Regions from separate parts of the Homo sapiens genome. Here all the other regions are linked to region 1. The links are contacts of gene promoters, found by promoter capture Hi-C in blood cells and fetal thymus (Javierre and others, 2016). All regions are on one chromosome and are shown on one strand. Each heading gives the region's core, a stretch centred on a gene start or on the middle of the fragment in contact. The rest is flanking DNA. Distances are from core to core; before and after follow the strand shown.

Region 1 (3,186 bases), core at 428-2,927:
ACAGCTGACAGGTTGAACTAAGAGGCCGTTGTGAACTGGGCACTATGCGACCCTCCCAATTTATACCCACCCTCCCAGTCCAGTGCAAGTCACACTTCCCCCATGAAGCCTTCCTGACTACCCTCTTCTTTTTTTTTTTTTTTTTTTTTTTTTTTTTTTTTTTTTTTTGAGACAGAGTTTCACTCTTGTTTCCCAGGCTGGAGTGCAGTGACGCCATCTCTGCTCACTGCAACCTCTGCCTCCCGGGTTCAAGCGATTCTCCTGCCTCAGCCTCCCGAGTAGTTGGGATTACAGGCGCCTGCCACCACATCTGGCTAATTTTTGTATTTTTAGTAGAGATGGGGTTTCACTGTGTTGGCCAGGCTGGTCTCGAACTCCTGACCTCAGGTGATCCGCCTGCCTCGGCCTCCCAAAGTGCTGGGATTACAGGCGTGAGCCACCGCGCTCGGCCCTTTCTTGGGTCCTCGGATCCCTCTTGTACTGTGTTGAATGTTTGGGCTCTTCCGCTCTGTTTTCTAGTCAGTTGCACCCACCCGACTGAGCCCGTGGTACTGCAGTCTTGCTGTGGTGTCTCTGCAAGCAGCTCTGCACCCCAGCACCTGGCTCGGGGCCAGGCACTGAGAAGGCAGTCAGGCCCTGTGTGCTGAATTGAAGGAATGTGTTTGTGGCTTTCAGTGACTTCGCATCTCAGGCCTTACTCTCATCCTGCTTAGTAGCAGGGGAAAGCACTTTAGCTCCGCCAGTGCCCCCAGCTGGGATCAGATTCTGACGCCATCACCTACTAGCGGTGTGGGCTTGTGCAAATCACTCCAACTCTCTAAGCCTCAGGTTTTCCAGACTTAATTATCACCTCTGCCCTCAGAGTTCAAATTAGCACTCCATTGGATGATAAATAGGCTAAATAAGATAGTAAATAGAAAGCCCTTAACACAGCGCCTGGCACATACTGAATGTTCAATAAAAGGTGGCCCCCTGCAGGTTTATTTCACCACAAACTTTATTATATGAGCCAGCACGCTTCTGGGAAGGAAACCAGGAGCTAGTCATCCTTGGGCCTGAGCTGGGTGCTGTGGCATGCGCTTGTAATCCCAGCTACTCAGCAGGCTGAGTGGGAGGATCGCTTGAAGCCAGGAGTTCAAGACCAGCCTGAGCAACATAACAAGACCCCCATCTCAAAAAACAATAATTATATTAATAAATAATTAATAATATTTAGTATTAATATAGGATTAATAAGTAATTAGTAATACTATTTATTATTATTATGCCAAGATGACAAGTATAAACTAGGCAGAACCAGGCCAACCTGGACATCTGGTCACCCTGCTTATCCTCTACTCACTACCAGCCTTGTAGGCCAGGACTGGCAGATCTTCATCTCACAAACCCCCGCCCCACCTTCCTCCTGCCTCTTCCCAGCAGCGCCCTAGCTGAGCACCTCAGGGACTTCTCCTCCCGGGGCAGGGGCCCCCCAGAACCGCAGCCTGCCTGGAGCTGCGGAATGCTCTGAAACGGGGGAGATCGCAAGTTCCCGTTCCTGCCCCCACGTCCCTGCAGACCCTGGAGCCCTTCAGCGACCCCGGGAGCCTACCGTGAGGGCCGAGCGGGTGGCGCCGGGCTGCCCTGTCTTCCTCAGGAGCAGAGAGGAGTCTGGTGTGGCCTGTGGTCAGCTCAATCCAGCCCCAGCGCTGATCAAAGTTCCAGGCAGTGGTTCCTCCCCTCACGTGGCCCCAGCGTCCCAGAATGTCACCAGGGTCACAGGACGGGAGAGGGCCTTGGCAAGGCCTCTGAAGATTACAAAATGACCCTGAACTCCTCCCATGTACAGAGCCCTGCCGGGGCCAAAATCCCACCGAGGTTGCAGGGTTGGCACCTTCAGGACCCCGAGGACACTCAGAAAGCTCTAGAGATTCCCGCAGGCGGCTGGGTTGGTGAGGCCTGGGATGGGGTCCACGCTCACACCCATACCTGTGAGCAGAGGCAGAGGGACTGGGAGCCTGCCTTCAGCCTCAGGCCCCTGCTGGGCTCTCAGCGCCCGGAGGCATTTCAAGAGGGCTGTGGATTTGTTGTTTTGTCTTGTTGTGTTTGTTTGCTTGTTTAATGAATGAACTTTCTAAACCCTTCCTGAATTAGAAGGGGGAAAAGCTATAGGGAGATGAATTGGGGCCCAATATGGAGAGGAGCGCTCACACACTCAGGGCTGGCCGAGGACGAAAGATGCTGCTTTGGAAGGGAGGGATTTTCCCATCTCCGGAGGTGTGGAACCAGGGCTGCAAGACACACGGAGTGTGTGTGTGCTGAGTGCGTGCATCTGGGGGTGTGCATGTAAGTGGGTGTAAATGTGAGTGGCTGTAGGGGGTGTGTGGTGAGTGCATGTGTGGGGGTGTGTTGTGTGTGTAAGTGGGTGTATGTGTGAGTGGGTGTGTGCGCGCGTGGGTAGGGTGTGTGTGTGGTGAGTGCGTGTGTGGGTGCGTGTGTGGGTGTATGTGTGAGTGGGTGTAGGGGTGTGTGTGGTGAGTGCGTGTGTGGGGGTGTGGTATGTAAAGAGGGTGTATATGTGAGTGGGCGTGTGTATGTGAGTGTAGGAGTGTGTGTGGTGAGAGCACATGTGTGATGTGTGTGTAAGTGGGTGTATGTGTGAGTGGGTGTAAAGGTGTGTGTGGTGAGTGCGTGTGTAAGTGGGTGTAGGGGAGTGTTTGGTGAGTGCATGCGTGTGGGTGTGGGGTGTGTGTGTGTAAATGGGTATATGTGTGAATGGGTGTAGCGGTGTGTGTGGTGAGTGCGTGTGTAAGTGGGTGTATGTGTGAATGGGTATGTAAGTGGGTGTAGGGGAGTGTTTGGTGAGTGCGTGCGTGTGGGTGTGGGGGGTGTGAGTGGGTATATGTGTGAATGGGTGTAGGGGTGTGTGTGGTGAGTGCGTGTGTGTAGGTGTGCAGTGTGTGTAAGTGGGTGTATGTGTGAGTGGGTGTGTGTAAGTGGGTGTAGGGGTGTGTGTGGTATAAGTGGGTGTGTATATGCATGAGTATGTCTCGTGTGTGTAGAATGAGAGTGTGTGAGAAAATGTGTGGTAAGTGGGTGTGAGTGTGCAGTGAGTGGGTGTGTGGGTGTATGTGTGTGGTGAGTGGGTGTGTGTGTGCAGTGTGTGGGTGTGTGGTGTGTGTGGTGAATGGGTGGGTGTGCGTGTGT
Region 2 (3,186 bases), core at 356-2,855, 500 kb before region 1:
TATGCATGAAAACTGTTATGCAGAAAAAATTCCTACAATGGTTTTTTTTCCTCCAAATGAAATTCTTTTGTGTTAATAAATATTTCTTCATTTATGTCCAATCTTAGGGTGCTCACAAAGAGATCTCCTTAGGTTACATCCCTTTGTTTCTGAGATTTAATGAAAGAATTTTATGTAAGTTAAAGAAAGGAATTCTTGTTAGATTTATATATCAAAGTAAACCACAGACCTCAGTTATTTCGCCCAACTTGGCCACCCCACCCCATCTGATGTCAGAGTCTTTCTCTAATACTGTCTTGAGTCAACTGTGTGCCAGGATAGTGCCTGCTGGAAACTGGATGGAATTCTCATTTAATTATCACAACAGCCCTATGAGAGATGTGAACTCTCTGTTTTCAAATCATGAAACTAAGTCAAGAGAGCTCAAGAAATTTGTCCGCTATCACAAAGCTAAATAGGACTGTGGGACAGAAAGACTCCTAAGCCCAAGGACTTTTTAAATATTAGAACTTCTCCTTCCTATGGTCATCTAGTCACTGCTCAAACCCTCCCTACACACTGCTTTCCAGTTGGAGGCAGTTTTTGTTGTTTTATAGTGTTCTTCCCTGTCCTGAGCCTTCTTGTAAAGTCCACCTGTAAGTTCAACCACAAGCATGATTTTATACCTCAGGCAGGAACCAGATCTAGAGGGCATTCTAGGAGGAGTAGGCTAATAACCACATACTAGGAATGTGTTGTTTGCAAGCTGCAGGTCAGAAGAAGTTGAGGCTGGCATACAAGGAAGTATCATTCTAGGGCTGTGTCAGGCCAAGCCCACAGCTTCTGTGCTGTGGATAAGGATAAGGGACGCTGAGTTTTAGGAAGTATAAGGGCTGGCTGATACACGAGGGGAAAGCAGACAGTGAACCTCAACCCCCACACCACAGGCCCAGTTCACAGGAAGACAGCTCAGGAAGGAGACACAGGTTCTGATAAGATATAAGCTCCAGATCCCACCCTGCATTTGTCTGCAAGCCATTTCCTGGTTCATGGATGGCAGTGACCTGGAAATATGGACCACAGAGGTCATGATTCTAGAAATGCTGCCCTGCCTCACTAAATTCCCCAGCCAGCTACACCCTCTGCCTTCACAGCCCTTCGTATAGACTCCTTTACCACATAGTCTCATCATGAGTTGTTTTAATTAGTAGTCTCTCCTTTAGCCTATGCCCTTGTAGTTCAGGGGTTGGTAAACTATTACCCATGGGCAAAATCTATCCCACTGCCTGTTTTTGTAAATAAAGTTTTATTGGAACACAGCCATGCACATTCATTTTTATATTGGCTATGACTGCATTCTCTACAGCTTCAGAGTTGGGTAGTTGTAATAGGAACCACAAAGCCTAAACTACTTGTCACTTGTCCTTTTATAGAAAAAGTTTACCAACCCCTGTTCTTGAGAGCAAGGACAAAGTTCTATTTATCTTATATTCCCATTAGGGTCTTGTATCTCCAACATTATAGCCATACTTTTAAAATCTGTAAAATGACAGTGATATCTCTGTCACAGAGATATAGTGAAATATAAAGGAGATATTAATATATTTGGAGACAGGATATGCAAAATGCCTAGCACAGTTCCTGGCATAGGACAAATACTCAATAAGTATTTAGTGAATGAAGCAGAAGGTCAATCCACTCCAAATGAAATGATGCATGTGAGAGCACTTTGCAAACCACAAAGCTCTGTGATGCCATGGTGGGTTACTATCATCACTGTCAAATACAGAAATGTTCTGGAGCAAAGCCGGCTCTCCCCTCTGGCTTTCTTGATCCTGATCTTTTGGGTACAATCTCACATACAGTCTTAATTTAAGCGAATTCATAACCCAATTTTTACATGGATCCTATCCATCCCTCTCTCTTACCCTCTCCCTCTAGGTACTGGTTCTTAGGTTAAATCTTGAGTTCCTTACGTAAGAGTACCAAACAGTGACGGCTCTGGTGGTTCCGTACTGAGTCAGCCTACCTAAGCCCAAAGGACATTTCCCAGATTTTTCCTTCTTTCTATGGCCCTCGTTATGGTTGGCCATAAGAGAAATTGGCATGAGATTTGGAAAGCAGACCAACCATCACAACACTTGAAGGTTGGTGCAGGGCTACAGGTGCCATCACAGCTCATGAACACAAACAGACACCAGCATTTACCTACTTGCTTACCTCCTTAGCATGGAGCAGCGGCCAGTTCTGCAGCTCCCCTCAGCTCCTGCTGAGTTTTGGCTCAGGTGTGTGTGCACCCCTATGGTAAAGGGCACATACCTCTTCTATAGGGTTAGTTGTGGTGAAAGACAGGGAAAGGTTCCAGGTTGCCCTTGATCTCTCCTGTATCAGGTCCAGCTTATCTTCCTGCATCCTTCTCCCACTATTGTGAGAAGTCTAATTGCTATGGGAAATTATTTCATATCACTAAGAGTGACTCTGCCTCCCTGATGAAACCATGAGCAAGAAAACCTAAAGGATGAGTTCTCTGAATTGGTTCTGGAGTTGGCTCTCTGATCTGATTATATTTAAAAGCGTTAATGACTCTGATGCCAGTAGTAAAGGGGACCTGGTGGTAACAAAAGAGTTAATTACATTATCACCTATAAATACCTGTAATTAAGTGCCTATAGAAGGCAGGGCTTTGGATAACCAAGTAGTTGCTTCTGTACAATATTTCAGCAAAAATAAGGAAGATACAGATGTTGATAGGTAGCTTCTAGGTTACTGAAGAACTTGGAGAAAAAAAAAATTATGACTAAGTTCCCAATACAAAGACTAACTAAGGGAAATCTTTAGTTCCTGTGGCTATAGGGCAAATATTTCTGAAAATCAAACCCAAGGTCTAATTTTGGGAAGAATTATGCAAACTGAAATCACAACCTCACAGAGTATCTTATGGTAAAATTAGCACATTGATTAGGAAGAAGTGTGGTTCTGAGCATTGGGGTAGACATATGGGCAGATTCAGATGAAGCTGGGAGCTAGAACTTGAATTTTGCTGAGCCTTTTTTGCCAGTAGTAGAAGCACTCCCTTCCTAGCTAATGAGCTCACCTTGCCTAAAGAAACTGCAATGGCCTTTCACCGAGCCTGGACCAGAACAAATGACCAGAGGTGCCTTGCAAGAAACTACTGATTCTCCTTAAGACCTACCTACTCTCAATTCT
Region 3 (3,186 bases), core at 299-2,798, 420 kb before region 1:
TAATGGAACACTGCTACTTTCTGCCAGGAGTTATAATTATTCGTGAGCTCCTAGAGGACAGGGATCATCCTGTTTTATCTTTCAACCTTGCTCTCAGGGTCTCGCACAGTGAGATCAATGACATAGTCATCCTGGCCACAGGGAAGACATACTAGTGATGTGTTACTTGGATGCAGCTATGACTCAGATGATGTGCCAAGCTTGGCTATAAACATGCAGCAAGCACACCAGCTTCTCCCTCTGCATTCTCAGCAGAGCCTGACTTCAAAAAATCACCAAAAGGAAACTTCAATCACCTGAAGTTTCTAAAAGATAAATAAGTAATGTTCAGACCACAGTTGCTCTCCAAAGGGACAGAATCCACTGCCTGAACTTGTACCATGGCCTTGAGGTGCACTCCCAGCTGTCTGCATCATGATATGGCCGGTGTCCCTGTCAATGTGCACAGGATGAGAAACTGAAGCTCCTGTTGATGAGAATCAATAACAGCAGTAATAATCTTGCCCTGGTCTGCACGAGGCAGCCCCAAAGGGGAGTCCAGCCTCATAAACTCTGCAGGAAGGTGGCCTGGCTCCATCGTTTGCCAGCTGTGTGACTGGTGCAAGTTGCTCAACCTCTCCACCAGCTTCCTCAACTGCAAAGTGAGAATCATAAGCATGCCACTCTTATAAGGTTATTGTGAGGATTTAATAAGTTAATATACGAAGAGTGCTTAGAACTGTGCCTGGGATAAATCTTCAATGAATGGTAGTTATTATTTATATTAATAATGACAACAACAAATATTATTAGAAGAAAAACATTTCTAGTGGCCTCTTCTGTTGCAGGAGGAGAAGAGGGGAGAGGAGGGGATAGGAGAGCAGGGAGGACTGGGAATGTGGGAATATGGTTTCTAGGCCTGGCTCTATGATTATGTAACTCTGTGACCAGAAGCTAAATCACGTCCTCCTCTCTCTGGACCTCAATTTCTTCCTCTGTGATATGAGGTCGTTGGACTAGATTAGAGTTTCCTAAACTGAGCTAAGCATCAGAATATTCTGGGAAGGCTTTTTAAAAATCTAGGTTCTCAGGCCCCACTTCTAGTTTACTGAATTGGGCTCTGAGACTGTGGATACCAGGAATAGTATTTGTTTTTAAGCTTCTTTGGTGAGTCAAATGCAACTAGTTAGTGCTTAGGAGCCATTGGATTCAACCAAAAACTCCAGCCTCAGGGTTTTTTTACTTACTGTTCCCTCTGCTGGGAAAGCTCTTCCCCTCAATGTTTCTTTGACTCAGCCTCTCATTCATACTACTGCACAAATGTCACCTCCTCAGAGAAAACCCTTCTGATCATCCTATGTAACTCTCCAGCCACTCTCCAACCTCTTAATGTGACTCATTCCTCCCTGTAGCACTTCTTACCATGTGCCTTGGTTGGCTGGTCATTCTCCTTGCTCCCTAGACTGTAAACTCCATGAGGGCAGGGATTGAGTTTTGTCCACCACTGCATCCTAGCAACTCTGGTATAGTGCCTGGTTCCTAAGTGGCACTTAATAATTCAGTTTTGAATTAACTAATGAATAGCTGAATGGATTGGATGAATGAATAAGTGTGCATCCACTTTGCCTCTGCCTGTAGGTCAGAATGTGGAGCTAGCCGACAGCAGCAGGGAGGTGAAGGGAAGCAGACAGCGTGCTCAGTAGAGAAACTCATGGAGAGTCTTTCCTCCTGGGAGACGTTCTAGAGTACAGCTCAAAGCCTCTCACTGTGGCTCAGCCTTCAGGGATCCCTGAAGTTCCCCAGGATTGTGGACTATGCTTCTGCTATTCCTGAGGCGATTCTCCAAGGGAGAGGTTTTTAAATCTAGCTGTCTGCCTCAGAGCTATGTTTTGGGGTTTCATAGCACTCAGATTTTCCAGGTGCTTACATTTAGGGAGGATGATGACAAACTTCTCAGCAGTCACTTTCTGGAGGGGTGGGGAAGCTTTCCTGATCTCCATTATAGAACAATATACACCAAGAGACATGATGTCATTTAAAAAGGTGTTTTAAAAAGGTGTTTGAGCTGGAAAATGTTTCCAAAAGTATTTTAGGGGGTTCATAAATGATTAATAAAATTTATAGAGGTGGGTTATTATCTTAAAAATAGAGTATATATGAAATACTTTTGAAGGTAAGATTTTATGGGCTAGCATTATATTTCCAGATTTCTAGGCCTTTAAAACATAAATATGCTGATCAGAGCTTTAAAAGAAAAAGTCCATTTTCCCATCACATTTTGTTTGCACAATTGGGATGTGGAAACTAGACACATAGATTCTGAGGTATTTAACTCATCTGTTCAATTGTTGGCCCTACCAATCAGAAATGATCAGCTTAAATATCATATCAGCATCTGTAATTTTGACTGACTTGCCAAACATCAAAACTCTCTTTTTGCCCTCTGAATAGTATTTTTTCAAAACTTTGGGGAAAATAAATAAGTCAGATAATTTATGATGTGAAAGAGCACACCTTTCCAATATTAGAGAATATTCTCTCAAGACTTAGTTGCACTGATTAAGTTTGGGCAACGTTAAGTGGATGAAATTTTTCAACAGAACATATCAGCCTTTTTCATATGTTAATGTGCGTGTGATTTTCCTGCAGGAAAAAATCAGACATAACATTTTCCAAAATATCTGATCAGGAAACTCTGTAGACCCAGACTGCCATTTATCCTCTTGTGGAGCTAGCATTCCTCAGAACACAGATAGGAAATGCTGGTCTAGTAAGGACAACTAGTGGACTGGCTTGAGTTTTTAGAAAATACGGTTTGTTGTTTGTTTGTTTGTTTGTTTGTTCATTTGTTTTTGTTTGTTTGTTGAGGAAGTTGGAAGACAAGTGTTATAAGAATTGCCCAGTGATTTTTCTAAATTCAAGATATGATTCCTGCCCTCTGTAAGCACATGAGAAATGAAAGAGATGGCACAGATGTGTTCTTGGTATGGATGGCCGGTTTAACAAAAGTACCTATGGGTAAAAATCTACTTTTGGCCATGATGGAGTAAACTGGTATTGGATGTGCCTTCCACCACAAGCAATGATTAAACAGGACAAAATATCTGAAGCAATTATTTTCAGGCATAGAATAATGGACAGCAGAGGTGTGATCCTCGAAAGAAGGGAAGCCCATGAAGTGAGCCCTGCATGCCATCTGGCTTTCCA

The links. Contacts are between HindIII fragments. The CHiCAGO score rates a contact against its expected background, and 5 or more counts as called.
Region 2: a fragment that was not itself captured here is called in contact with the fragment with the promoter of CPN2 in region 1 in 1 of 17 cell types (M1 macrophages); the score reaches 5.5 in M1 macrophages.
Region 3: a contact is called between a fragment that was not itself captured here and the fragment with the promoter of CPN2 in region 1, in 1 of 17 cell types (naive B cells). The highest score is 5.3, in naive B cells.

What each region holds. Positions count from the first base shown.
Region 1 is chr3:194,349,651-194,352,836 of GRCh38, forward strand. It overlaps CPN2 (carboxypeptidase N subunit 2), which reads right to left and starts at 1,678. Exons shown (of 2, transcript NM_001080513.4): 1 at 1,592-1,678. RefSeq lists an enhancer at 1,154-2,003. The HindIII fragment of the contact is 6,903 bases long and covers 1-3,186 here.
Region 2 is chr3:193,852,880-193,856,065 of GRCh38, forward strand. No RefSeq gene overlaps it. Among named protein-coding and RNA genes, the nearest start is that of LINC02038, 10 kb to the left of the region's middle. The HindIII fragment of the contact is 3,377 bases long and covers 1-3,186 here.
Region 3 is chr3:193,932,187-193,935,372 of GRCh38, forward strand. LOC105374287 (a long non-coding RNA gene) reads right to left here. Exons shown (of 2, transcript XR_007096293.1): 2 at 1-3,186. Among named protein-coding and RNA genes, the nearest start is that of LINC02026, 70 kb to the right of the region's middle. The HindIII fragment of the contact is 825 bases long and covers 1,137-1,961 here.